2 separate regions of the Homo sapiens genome follow, and region 2 is linked to region 1. The links are contacts of gene promoters, found by promoter capture Hi-C in blood cells and fetal thymus (Javierre and others, 2016). All regions are on one chromosome and are shown on one strand. The core of a region is centred on a gene start or on the middle of the fragment in contact, and the rest is flanking DNA. Distances in the headings are between cores, read along the strand shown. Region 1 holds the start of SPCS3 (signal peptidase complex subunit 3). Region 2 overlaps NEIL3 (nei like DNA glycosylase 3).

Region 1 (6,849 bases), core at 2,557-5,056:
ACAATATGCAAACATAAACAAGGCTCAATAATTAACCAAGTATAATAAATTGTACATGTCACTTTTGGTCACATGCAAGTAGACATTAAAATGTCTCTCAAAGATGCAAATGACACCAATGTGGCTCAATTCAGTCTCCCAAAGAGGACAAGAACTTCACCAGAATTAACAAGACTGGTGCCAATACCAAGAAATAAGCGGAGTTAATATTTGGATTTTTAAGTATTATGTTAATTGTTAAGTTAACTCATTTTACTATATGAGTTTCCACACTGGTAGTAACACATTTGTTACATTCCATTATTAATTATGTGTAACCACTAAGAATCACTCCTTTAGAACTAAGTCTAGGACTGCTGTTTACAAGAACAGCAACAATTTCAAGTAGTAGTAGCAGCAGCATTAAGAAAATCTGAAGAAACTACAAATAATGAGATTGGTAATATATAAATACCATAGATACCAGGAAATTTCACTATAATTCTCTGGATACACAAAATTACTACCCTCACAGTAGACCTAAATTCCCTTAAGCAGATTTTTAAAAATTACACAAAGACTTAAAAATACACATGAAATTCAGCATAAGACTCTTCCGATGGTACACTCTATTTCCTAAAAAGGTACCTACAGAACTAATTCTTAGCCTATTTCTAAATCCAATAATTACCAAAACTTAAGCTAAAAGTAAATTTCATGGTCATAGAAAGGCAAATTAGATAAATTCCCCAAGTATATGATCAGCTTTAACTGTTCAGACAGGTACTTTCACACAAGTTCAGATCGTTCAATCTCCACAACCATTTAAATCACGGGGTATTAAAAAGGCAGATGAAATCAGGCTAGAAATGGCAGAGAACATTGCCAAGATATTAACCTAAGAAAGACCCTAAAAAAGACTAGCCTGGCCAAAATGATCAGAGTTGTCAAAAGATAGAAACTCAATCTCAAGAGAAAATATTTAAATATCACCACCAAAGAAACTCTTATAATTGTTAATATTTTCTGACTTTTATAAAAGTCCTTATAAAAAGAGTTATGACGGCAAAAAGCAACCACAGGTTACCAATAATTTTGATATGACCTTTTCAAATCATAACACACGTAATTCACTTTTTAAACATATGTTTCTCTCTGCTATAATAAAATATGGATATATTATTTGAAATTGTACATGAAATATTCACAGGCAGGCTGAGCATTGGTAATATTTTTCCTTCTTATCCAAATGATCTAATTTTATTTTTTCTTTCTAAAATACAGATTCAAACTTTCTTATGTAGTTTTCAATCAATTTAATGTTTCGGTTAAGAATTTAAAGTATGTTCACACAACTACTCATGAATCTATGAAGTTTTCTCCAAGTGTCATGGGGAGGTATTAACATTATTTTACTGATGAAAAAGGCGGAATTTCCAAGGTTTGGCTGATTCAATGAGATAGTCACACTGTATCCCAAATCATTAAACAACACATATCTCATTATAAAACTACAGAAAACGCAACGAAATATTTTCTTAAAGGATATCAGCAGTTATATCAAATGTGATAAATCCCAGATCACTTCTTTCTCTAGGTCCAGTGAAATCTTCTACATTTTTTCTAGGAATAAAGATAAAAGTTTTACCATCCTTCCAACAGAACATACACAATTCACGTAACTTCTTAAAGAGAAAGAATACAGGTGTGTGCATAGGTGAAACTGCAATTCCACAAAGAAACGAGTAAACACCAGAGAAACCTGTAAGTGTGAAAACAGGAGAAACATTCTAATCCAATATTAAAGTAGGTCTTCAGCTAATTGCATATACCTCAAGAGAATCCCTAACAAAACTCAGAAGGGGATAAAAACTGCTAAAAAGAATAGTAAATACTTGATGTAAAGCAATTTTGCAGAATGGGTAGAAGAAAGCTACACATGACTACAAGGTGATACGAATACTAACAGATGGCATATTAAAGGGTGATACAGTAATCACCCCCTTATCCGAGGTTTCACTTTCCGGTTTCAATTATCCGCGGTCAATCTGGTGTGAAAATAGGTGAGTCCAGTAAAATAAGTTATTTTGAGAGAAGGGGAAAGAGATCATATTCACATAACTTTTATTATAGTATATTGTTACAGTTCTATTATGTTATTGTTAATCTCTTATTGTGCTTAACTTGTAAGTTTTATCATAGGTAGGTATGTATGTACGGTATAGGAAAAAACCAAGTATATATAGGGTTTGGTGCTATCCGTGGTTTCAGCCATCCACTGGGGGTCTTGGAACGTATACCTACCCCATTAAGGGGATACTACTGTAACCAGCTGCTATTTACTGTTTACTACGGCTCAGACCCACTGACAATATTTTTCACATTTCAAATAATTCTCACAACCTAAAAATTAGGTATTACTTCCATCTTAAACAAAAAGAAATTAAGGCCCAGAATGGTAAGAAAACTTGCTCAAGACAACAACAGCTAACATCTGTTCAGTGTTTAATATGCACCAAGCTCTTCTAACCCTCACAGGGCTGACAATGGCAGTGCTGATGTCCACCCCAGGTCTATTCGAACAATATCTAACAAACATCAGTACAGTAATTTAAAAAAAAAAAAAAAAGGTGGGGGGAGAAGGCTCGCTATTTGATAACTGGCTTCTTGGCGATTCTGACAAAGAAATAAACTAAGGTTAAAGAACTTGTGTAAGACGGAAATAGAGTAGAAGGGTATGAGAACAAGAGATGGAAAAATACGACGATTAAAGACAAAAGTGCCAGAGAATAAAATCAAGGACAAAATAGGCAATAGCGAAATGGCACTGTCATTTCGAACTGCATTTTTTGGCGTTTTCGCAGACTTCTTCAAGTGGTTGGCAAAAGAAAAAGAAATAAAGAAACCCAACAAAACAAAAATCTCGCTGTATCAGAAGGCTAAGATGCTTAATTCTCTCAGTGCCCAACATCTCTGGCCAACTTCAAAGCAGCTCCAACTGTTTACTGCCTTCTGAAGGTGCAAAGGCAACAACTGTAAAGGGAATGTCAAACAGGGCAAACTCGGGTGATGAATGACACAAAGACAACCCCGTCCTGTGGCCTCCAGAGCCGCCAGGAAACCCCACGGAAGCCCGACCCAGAGCGCGGCGGCAGCGCCTGGAGGGCCTCGCATGCGGACCACGAGCGGCACCGGACGCGCGGGAGGCGCCAGCCCAGGCGGGCGGCGGCGCCGGCTCTGCTGTTGTGTTGCTCCCTCATTGGCCAGGCGTGGGTGGAGGGAAGTGAGGAACAGGAAGCAAGCGGAGGCACCGACCTGAGGAACGCTCAAAATTAAAATTTAAGAGCAAGCCCGGGAATTTACGGTGGAGGGGTGCAAGTTCCGAGGGGACGCCGGAAAAGCCTGCGACGTCCACCCCTGACGACCGCCCTCGGGGGCGAACTGCCGCTCAGGAGGGCGATCCGGACGCCCTGCCCGCGGCCCCGGCACGGCAGCCCCGGCGCGGCGGCCCGGCTTCGGCTTCCGCCCCAGCCCGGTCCCGGCGTCCTGCACCGCCGGCCCGGCCTCACTCACAGCATGATCCGCGAGACGTGCAGCCGCACCGGGACGCTCCTGTCTTTGAAGGCGGTGGTGATGAAGCAGCCGAAGGTGAGCGCCGCCATCACGCTCAGCGAGAAGGCGAACAGTGAGTTCGCCCGCGACAGCACCGTGTTCATCGCGATCGTCTCCCACGAGTCCGGACTCCACACGCACACCCAGGCTCCCGTTCCGGCGGCGGACCGGCTCCCTGCGATCCGCGCCGTCTGCGGTGCGCGCGTTCCGGGAGCGCGCGCCGCCGCAGCCCCGCCTCCTTTCCGGTCCTCCGACGCGAGCGCGCGCGCGCCCGCTTCCCGAAACACACCCACAGCGCGCACGGGGCGGCGCGGAAAGGGAGAGACTCAGCCGCGGGCCCGCCCCTCCGTCGCGGCCTAACGCCGCCACCAATCAGCGACGAGTGAGGGAGGGGCGGGGTTTGTTGTGGAAGACCCACCCCCTCCTCTTCTAAATTGCTTCTCCGACCTTTGGGTTCAGAGAATTGGGAACCGGTCGTTCGCTGTCCTTTTTCGGTTCTTTGGTCAGAGGTCTGGGACTGCGACTTCTTGATTACTTATGTACCATTTATTTTCACTTGAAACCGGCAGCAAGTTAAGGTGGTTTAGAATCTGTCCTGACGGGTGGCGTTTGGAAGCAGCACTTTACAAAACGCCTGGTCCTCTCCCTTCTTTGTCAAACCTGGTCAAAGTTAGGACTTGAGCTTTTTTTGGAGGATCTGAGGAGCAGTGGGGAGTGGGGAATTAGCCGCCCAAGTCCTTAAAGCTGTCACGTGCATCAGTATTTCCACCTCCAACGTCAGTCCAATTCCTATTAATGCTTTGCTTTGTATGGATAGCTAAAGATGTTTTAGAAGATAAGGGTTGAGGCTACCGATCCTAAGTATTTGCATTTTAACATGGTGATTTCTGATAAATAAAAGGATAACCTTTCTGGGTTCTTAGGAGCAAAGAAGATAATGGCTGCGGAATTGCTCTACAGCATAATGTATAAGAATTTCGTTGGGTCATTAATAAATAATGCAATTATTTTATCACATTTTCAATATCCTGAAGGGCATTAGGGTTCAAACCGAGCCAATCCTGACTCTGATTATACTATCTGCCAAAACCTTTGTTCCTTTCACAGCTAAGGGTTTTTATAAAAATGGATTCAGGGTCTGCTGAAATAAATTTTTTTTAAAAATTTCAGTCCATAAACCAAACAAAAATATCTGTCCTGGAATGTGATCAGGAACAAACCAGAAAACTGTGAACATCTGATCTTGATACTGGCTTATGTTGTCTCTTGTTAAGCTTTTGCTTCTTTGCATTATTCATGACCATTCAATTAATTTTTGTATAGCCATACAGGTAGGATTATTACCAAGTGCCTACCGTGTACCAGGAATAGTTCTAAGCCTTGAGAATACAGCACTAATAAGGCAGACTCCCTGCTCAAATAGAGCCAACTAATGAAAAATCGATAAAATAGAGACTAAAGAGAGATCCTTAGTTGCGTTTAAAATCTTAGTTTTTAACTTCCAGGCTGGCACAGTTTGTTAACAAAAAAAGAAAAAAAAGGATTTTTATTGAATGCCATCTATACTGCAAGTGATACAGAGATTGTACTGATCACTTTCTACACTCAAAAGTATATAATCAGGTAGAGTTAATAAAATAAAAACAAATCTGAAATGTAAAACAAAAAAATACCCTGGGAAGTTACATAGCAAAGGAGGAAGGAATTACAGCCCTGGTAATGTGGGACAACACAGTGTGCAAATTATTTAACACAAAGCCTAAACAAGACACATTATTATTATAGCATGTTTTAGGGAAATAATTCTTGTTGTTGAACTGCAAGTACAGGTATATCTAAGAGATACTCAGAAGGCTGGTCCTGATAAACAATGCATGTATAAAAGAGTAAGCAGAAATAAGCCTGGAAAGGTAAGTTATGGTAGAAAACCAGGTCAAGAAGTTGACTTTATATCAGGGAAATTACATGTAAAACAAGCATCGCTACACAGGCAACCATTTACCAGTTATATGTGGAGAGTGAGTGATGGACCCAAAAGGAAGACTGATAGGAGGGGCATTTCGGAAACAAACTCTATGTTACTTAGCAACTGCCTAAATAAGAGTGGGGGTCTGCAAAGCATAGAGTGAATGCAGATTGTGAACACTCAAATGAAACTAGTATTATTATTATGACACCACAGTTTTTAACTTGACTTACTGGTAGTGCTAAAAACACATAAAAGTCCACAAAAAGAGCAGGAGAGGGATGGGATAGGGAATTTTCTTATTCTGTTTTATTTTTCCAAGTGTTTCTTTAGATTTTCTAGACATTTATATCACCTACATTAGATATCATTTTGCCTTTTCCGTTCCAATTATTATATTTCCAATTGTTTATTCATTTCAGTAGCTAATATTTCCAACATGATATTCAGTCAGATGGGGACAACTGATATCTTTTTGTTCCTGATTTGAGCAGGAAATTTCCTTTCATTTCTCCATCAAGTAAGATGTTGGCTTTGAGATGGAAATTGTGTGTGTGTGTGTACATGTATCATTATATAATATATATTGCATATTGATAGGAAATATCTATTCCTATTGGGAAATTTTTAAAAATATAAACAAGTGCTAAATTGTTTTCAGATGCATTTTCCCTATCTTATTTCCTCTACTTCTTTCCTCTATCTTATTTCCTCTGCTTATTTAATGGGTTATATGAATAGATTTTATAATATTGGCCCAGTAAGCATTCCTGGAATAAACTCCACCTGGTCATGATGAATTAGTTTTTAATATGCTCTTGTGCTTTCTTTGCTAATTTTGGGGTTTTTTGTTTTTTAGTTTGTGTAATCAATATTCATAGTGAAACTGATGTGTTTTTTTGATTGTAATATTATACTCAAATTAGAAAATATATATTTCTAATATAACAAGGAAAATAAGTTTTCCTTAGTTTTCTGTGCACTGGGATATTTTAAGTAGCATTTGGATCTGGTCTTTAAAAATTTGATAGAAAATTTGGTAGAAATTCCCAAGGGAGTCTATTCTTCTATTTTTTTTAAATTATTAATTGTTAATTCTAATTATGTATACTTGTGCTTTCTACCTTTTTCATTTATTGTTTTAATTAGTATTTTTTCTTGTTTTCTTTCAAAGCACTTCTGCATTTACTAATTAACTCTACTGTTTTCCAACTCATTAATTTTTGGTTTTAACACTATCAACTTTTTTCATTCCACTTTTTTTGTTTATTAGCTTTGGAAATTGGATATTT
Region 2 (6,322 bases), core at 159-2,658, 1.0 Mb before region 1:
TAGTTTCATGACTTGCTCATTACTGTAAGAAATAATACGCCTTGCCAATTCTGTGAAAGAGAACTGTAAATAGATTTTGAATACAGCTGACCTTTGAACAACATGGGTTTGAACTGGGAGGGTCCACTTATACGCAGATTTTTTTCTGCCTCTGCCATCCCTGAGACAGCAAGACCAACCCCTCCTCTTCCTCCTCAATCTATTCAATGTAATGATGATGAGGAGCAATAACTTTATGATGACCGACTTCCACTTAATGAGTAGTAAATATAATCCTTATGATATTCTTCTGTTTTTTTAGAGACAGGGTCTCACTCTATTGCCCAGGCTGGAGTGCAGCAGCATCATCATAGCTCACTGCAGCTTCAAACTCCTGGGCTCAGCCATCCTTCCGCCTCAGCCTCCCAGGTAGCTGGGATTACAGGCGCAGACCATCACACCTGGCTCTTACCATATTCTTAATAACAATTTCTTTTCTCAAGCTTACTTTATTGTAATAATACATATGTAACACATAAAACATACAGAATATGTGTGAACTATGTTATCAGTAAGGCTTCTGATCAACAGTAGGCTATTAGTAGTTACGTTTTTGAAGAGTCAAAAATTGTATATAGATTTTCAATGGGAGGGGTTAGCACCCCAATTCCTGTGTTGTTCAAGAGTCAATCGTATATGAATATCTTCTAGAGCTCTATTTCTTACGGATCTATTTAGTACCATTAACAGTAGTTATATTTTGAACTGATAATATTACTGACAAAATATGATTCCTATTTATACATTTTAATTGTAAATTCAAGCATTTATTGAATATTTATTCTGTATTAGACATCTTCAAAGTCTCAGCATTGTCTATCAGACACCTTGAGAAGTCTTGCTGGACTCAAAAAAAAAAATTACCAAGAACAATATAAAACAGAAAGAAGGGAAGGGAAAATAGGCACAGGAGTAGATGACCACCAAGGTCACTATCGAGCTTTAGAAAAGATATGCATTTCTATACATGCATTAATATCAAAGTACTTATTAACACATGGAAGAGCTCAGACACAGACCTTACTGAAGAATTTTTTTCTGACACAGCCTAACATAAATCTCAGTGTTACCCTTGCAGAATTATTATTTGGCACATGTGCCGTCAATGGTAATCCCAAAAGAAACCCTCTGATGCCTCATGCTTGTTGCCTGTGTGTGAATATCTATATGTACAGCTGACCCTTCAACGACACAGGTTTGAACTGAGCAGGTCCACGTACATGTAGATTTTTTTCAATCAAACATGAATGAAAAATATAGTATTTGTGAGATGTGAAGCCTGCATGTGTGTAGGGCTGACTTTTTGTGTAGCAGTGTCCCTAGGGCCAACTGCAGGACTTCAGTATGTATGGACTTGGTATAGGCAGGAGTACTGCAACTGATCCCCTGTGTATACTGAGGGAAGCTGCATATAAACAGACACATACATGTACAAAGAAAATCACTTATCAGTGACTATAGAAGTGAAAATCTAATCAACATAGTCATCCTGAAAGTATTATACATATTCAATTGTTCACTTAAACTTTAAAACTTACATACATCCAAAATATTTATTACTTTCCAAATCTTACATACTATATTAAGTCACATCTTGAAAAGTTAAACTGTACTTTTTCAGTAATTGTGCACGTGCTTTTAAGAAGCTAAGAGCTAAATTTCAGAAATGTGTGTGTGTGTGTGTGTGTGTGTGAGAGAGAGAGACAGAGTCTCGCTCTGTTGCCAGACTGCAGTGCAGTGGCGTGATCTCTGCTCACTGCAACCTCCGCCTCCCGGGCTTAAGCGATTGTCCTGCCTCAGCCTCTCCAGTAGCTGGGACTACAGGCATGTGCCACTACGCCCACCTCATTTTTGTGTTTTTAGTAGAGACAGGGTTTCACCATGTTGGCCAGGATGGTTTCACCACGTTGGCCAGGATGGTCTCACCTCTTGACCTCGTGATCTGCCCGCGTCAGCCTCCCAAAGTGCTGGGATTACAGGCATGAACCACCGTGCCTGGCCAATGTCATTAATTTTTAAACCCCCAGGCATTATGGGTAAATGATCATTTCCTAGATGGATGGATGGCTGGATGCAGAGATAAAAAGTAAATTCTCAGTGCATCACAGATAACAACAATACCCTGGGTTCTCTTTTTTTCAAAAACAACTTTCGTAGAGGTCTAAGTGATTTTTAAAAAGCTCACTCTTGTTAAAGTTCTGTTTCATTATTTCCATACTGAACTCACGTGTTCCAAGTATCAAAAAGCAGAATCTAATCTAGACCTATCATTAACTGGCTTCTTTTAAAGCTTCATTCCTACTGATTTGGGTATTACTAAAACTATCTAGTAAGTATCTACACAAAGTAAAAAAATAACCTGGGTTTATGTAAAAGATAATTTAGTTAATAGAGTCAATTATGTAAAAAATAATTCAGCTAAAAGAGCTAAAAATTAATTTAGTTAGTGGCAACAGGTCTTGATAAAAGCCCTAATGTAGAGGTCTTCCCTAGAAACTAAAATGTATGTATTCTACCTGGGTTAGGGTTCTCACCTCTCTTACCCTCTTAGAACATTGCTATATTCATCACCATTCCCTTTTCTACAATTTTAACCTCTGCCCTTTAACCACTTTTTTTTTTTTGCAACATATAAATAAGTTCAAGTCTCTGCAGTTGTAGAACAAGAAAAAAAATAAAATAACCAACTCATGTCTTGCCCTGGAATCCCCTCTAGCAAGCCAATATTTTCCCTTCACTCCGGCCTATGTGAACAAGGGCTCTACATTTTGCTTTCATTTCCTCACTGATCACTTATTCCTTGGTCCCTGCTGCCTGCCTTCCATTGCTATCCTTCCACAACAGCAGCTTCTAATGTCACCAACAGCTGTAATCAGGAATACACAAGCGTGTGCAGAACATGTACTTAATATGCCAGAGAGAGAAAATAAGTTGTGAGTTAGTTCATTCACATATTCCACAAATATTAATATCTAATGCCTACCATACACCACAGGTCACGTTCTAGATGTTGGGATACTTCAGTGAACAAAAGCCTTGTTTCCTTTTGAGACTGTGTTCTAGCAGAAGGAGACAGCTTTTAAACAATCAGTATAATAAGTAAATATGTTATGTTTGAAAGGGATACCTGGTATGGAGAGAACAAAAAGCAGGGCAAGTTAAGGAAGACTGATAGAGTGAAATGTGGAGTGGGAGGGTGTGCACAAGGCAACTGTAAGTGCAAGTGCGGTGGTAGGAGCCGGCTGCACTGAGAAATTGACCTGGGTAGAAATGGGAAGCGGGACACCTGAAGTCTGATGAGACTGTGTTACTGAAATGCAGAGTTAAGGCTTCCACGTTGGTTCCTTCACAGTACCGAAAAATCAACAGATAATTAAAAAAATACTTAAAACTTACTTTAACAGCTGGGTGGAGACCACTGTCAAAGAGAGCTTCATTTTTGATGATGTTCCCTACTCCAGGCAATACGTTCTGATCCATTAGCACATCACCTAGCATCCGGCCTTTCTGTTTTTTAACTTCACTTTCTGCTCTCAAGAAACTAAATTCAGGTGAACATACATCTAATTCTTTCATCATTCTTATTCTCTGTTGGCTTTCCATTGAGTTTCTATAGAAAGGAATATAAAACACATTAATCATAAGTCTGGTTATAATTTCACAAAGTGTCTTTTAAAATGAGCTTTGCTATAAGCACTTTATGTTAATCAGGGTATAAGAGTTACATATGCAAACAACAAAGACCTTACAAATTATATTATCTGAAGGCTTCTTTAAAATGAGGTTTCATCAATTACAAACTCTTTATTTATTTGTTTCTTTAGTTACACGTGTGACATCCCAAACCAAGCTCTGCAGTATTGCAGCGTAAGTACTTTTATTTAATTTTTTTTACCTGAGTTCTACTGATGAGTCAAAGAAACAAATCAAATCTTTGGTGAGCTGCACTTCCAAAACAGGAGAAGCTCCATTTTTATATTTATACTCAAGTGGATTAATCATGATGAAGCCTTTCATTCCGAAATGAATCCTGAAACAAAATCAAACCATTTTTGAGTGGCAGAAAGTATATCATTTATCAAGCTTTTTTCCTGTACTATCATTTTTTTTTTGGATTATAAGCAAACAAATGTTAGTCAGGATAGACACTTTTAAAGGGCAGAAACCAGTGGTAAGATTATTATATATTTTTCTCTCATGACTTTGTATCCTTATAAAGATAGAAGACATGACAATCAGTTTTTCAACTCAAAAGTAAAATAACTTCTCAAAGAAATAATATGGTACCAACAATAAGCCCAAAAAAATACACCCCTGCTCCTCTTTTCTTGTCAGATGAAGTATCTTTTATTCATGGAACAGTCTAGCATCTCTTGGCATTTTCTCAGATTCAAAGGCTTGGGATGAGATAAGGCTAAGTTTAAGTTGCCTATAGTTTGTGTTTTCATAAATTCTACAAAGCCACTAATATTCAAATTCCTTATTTCTAACCACAATGGATTGGAAATAATTACCTATTGCAAAATAATATCTATGGTTTAAGATGCTCTTTTCCCCCCTTGTTTTGCACTAGGCAATGAAACAATTTTTTTTATTTTTGCAAAATCTTACGTATCAAAAAAAAAGAGAGAACAAGTCAAAATGCTATTGTCCTCAATTCTTTTCGTTTTCTTTTACCTCTATATGTATTGGGAAGAGGAGATTTATAAATATTTACGGTTAACTTGAAAGCCACAAGGCAGCGATGAAAAATTCGTAACCTTTCAGATTTTATAGGATTGATTAGCATGTCCAGTTTTTAAAAAAAGTAGTTCTGTAAGACCTCTGATGATGAAGATCAAAAATGATTCTCAAGATGAAATACTGTGATCCGCCTTTCAAATCCTTCTCCTCATAGCTTTGTTGAGTTCATAAATATGGCTCTTTTGGCAGCGAATGCTACTGCTCTGTGCTTCTAATTGCGGAGCACCATGTTATAGTATTGTACAAGGTTAACCAGTCTAACTTTAAAAATGTGGGTTTTAAACTCTGTGTGCCCTACTATCAATCATAAATGCATTTTACATGCCCCATAGTTCTTGACAGGAAAAATGTGTGCCTGTAAGTACTCCATAATTTAACTTATGGAAGTTCAACCCCAGTGAAAGGTGTACAACTGTCATGCCCAGAAGCCATCATATCTAAAATCTTTTCAGCTGCATGGCTCATAAAGTGGATTCTAAATCACTTTCTATAATGAAACCACATCCACATAAAAAATCTCAAAGGTTAAGACCCAATTCAAATGCAGGAGTAGCCCCAGCAAGAACCTTAGATCAAATAAGTATGGCTCTGACTTATAAATCAATTCATTTTTAGGAAAAAAGTGCATAAAATGTTTTTTTAAATTTTTATTTATTTTGTTTTATTAAATAGATATTATAATTGAGCCCCAATAAACCAACACATCTCGTGGGTTTATTACTAAGTACCTTTGATCTTAAACTATAAAAAATGTATCAGTATCATGAAAATATTTGAGGCACAGTAAACATCTATACTGCGACAACAATTGATACTGATTTTTTTTTTTTTTAAACCAGGACATAGGCCCATATTACATAAAGAAAAGACATTTTTAGGGTTTCATTTGCTTTTCAGGATTCCTCATAATTAATTAGTTTAGGAAACTTTTATCAGATCCTTATTTCTATCTCAAGCTCCTTCTACCAACCCAAAAGGTTACCCAAGACAATTCACTCTGCATAATAGAAGTCTACCTGCCAACCACAGTTGCCTGGTCCAAGGGTGGGCATTAACCTGTTCAGGCTTAACCTGAACAGGTCTCTGTCGTTTTCTCAGATCCTGTGCCTTTGATACAGTTGATTCAGAAATGGACACCTGTCCCAAGCTAGATCCATCAGTATCCAAGCTGGGTTCGTCAATTTTTCTGATGAATTTAAAGACGTAGGACCCAAGGAGATCCTGCTAGCATTAAGAGATCTCATATGAGAGCTGTCTATGGGAATGATTCCCGATGTGAGCACCAGCAAAGCAAAGGAAGGTCTCCCTGCAAAGAGGAAGACTATAGAAGATTTCAGTGAGGAGCAGAGTGAAGAAATGAAGAGGAATCCTAACAGCTTTTAGTCTTTGCTTGCTTTAGTTCTCCTTGAAGCCTGCCTGTATTCTCTTCAGGTTTTGTAAGATACTTCATACACTTTTTTAAATTTTAAAGAAGTTTTTGGTGCCAAAGTCAACAAAAGATAATAAATAATTATTGAACCTGCTTGAGTTGGGCCTCTGT

What was found. The method cuts DNA at HindIII sites, captures the fragments that hold promoters and counts their contacts. A CHiCAGO score of 5 or more calls a contact.
Region 2: a contact is called between a fragment that was not itself captured here and the fragment with the promoter of SPCS3 in region 1, in 1 of 17 cell types (total CD8 T cells). The highest score is 5.3, in total CD8 T cells.

Annotation. Positions count from the first base shown.
Region 1 is chr4:176,316,923-176,323,771 of GRCh38, reverse strand. SPCS3 (signal peptidase complex subunit 3) reads right to left here and starts at 3,806. Exons shown (of 5, transcript NM_021928.4): 1 at 3,553-3,806; 2 at 1,529-1,602. The coding sequence starts at 3,695. It overlaps SPCS3-AS1 (SPCS3 antisense RNA 1), which reads left to right and starts at 3,262. Exons shown (of 4, transcript NR_186171.1): 1 at 3,262-3,627. RefSeq lists silencers at 3,093-3,172, 3,203-3,272, 3,393-3,512 and an enhancer at 3,495-3,995. The HindIII fragment of the contact is 6,231 bases long and covers 1-4,867 here.
Region 2 is chr4:177,333,435-177,339,756 of GRCh38, reverse strand. NEIL3 (nei like DNA glycosylase 3) reads right to left here. Exons shown (of 10, transcript NM_018248.3): 3 at 3,935-4,069; 4 at 3,436-3,649. Among named protein-coding and RNA genes, the nearest start is that of NEIL3, 27 kb to the right of the region's middle. The HindIII fragment of the contact is 1,847 bases long and covers 485-2,331 here.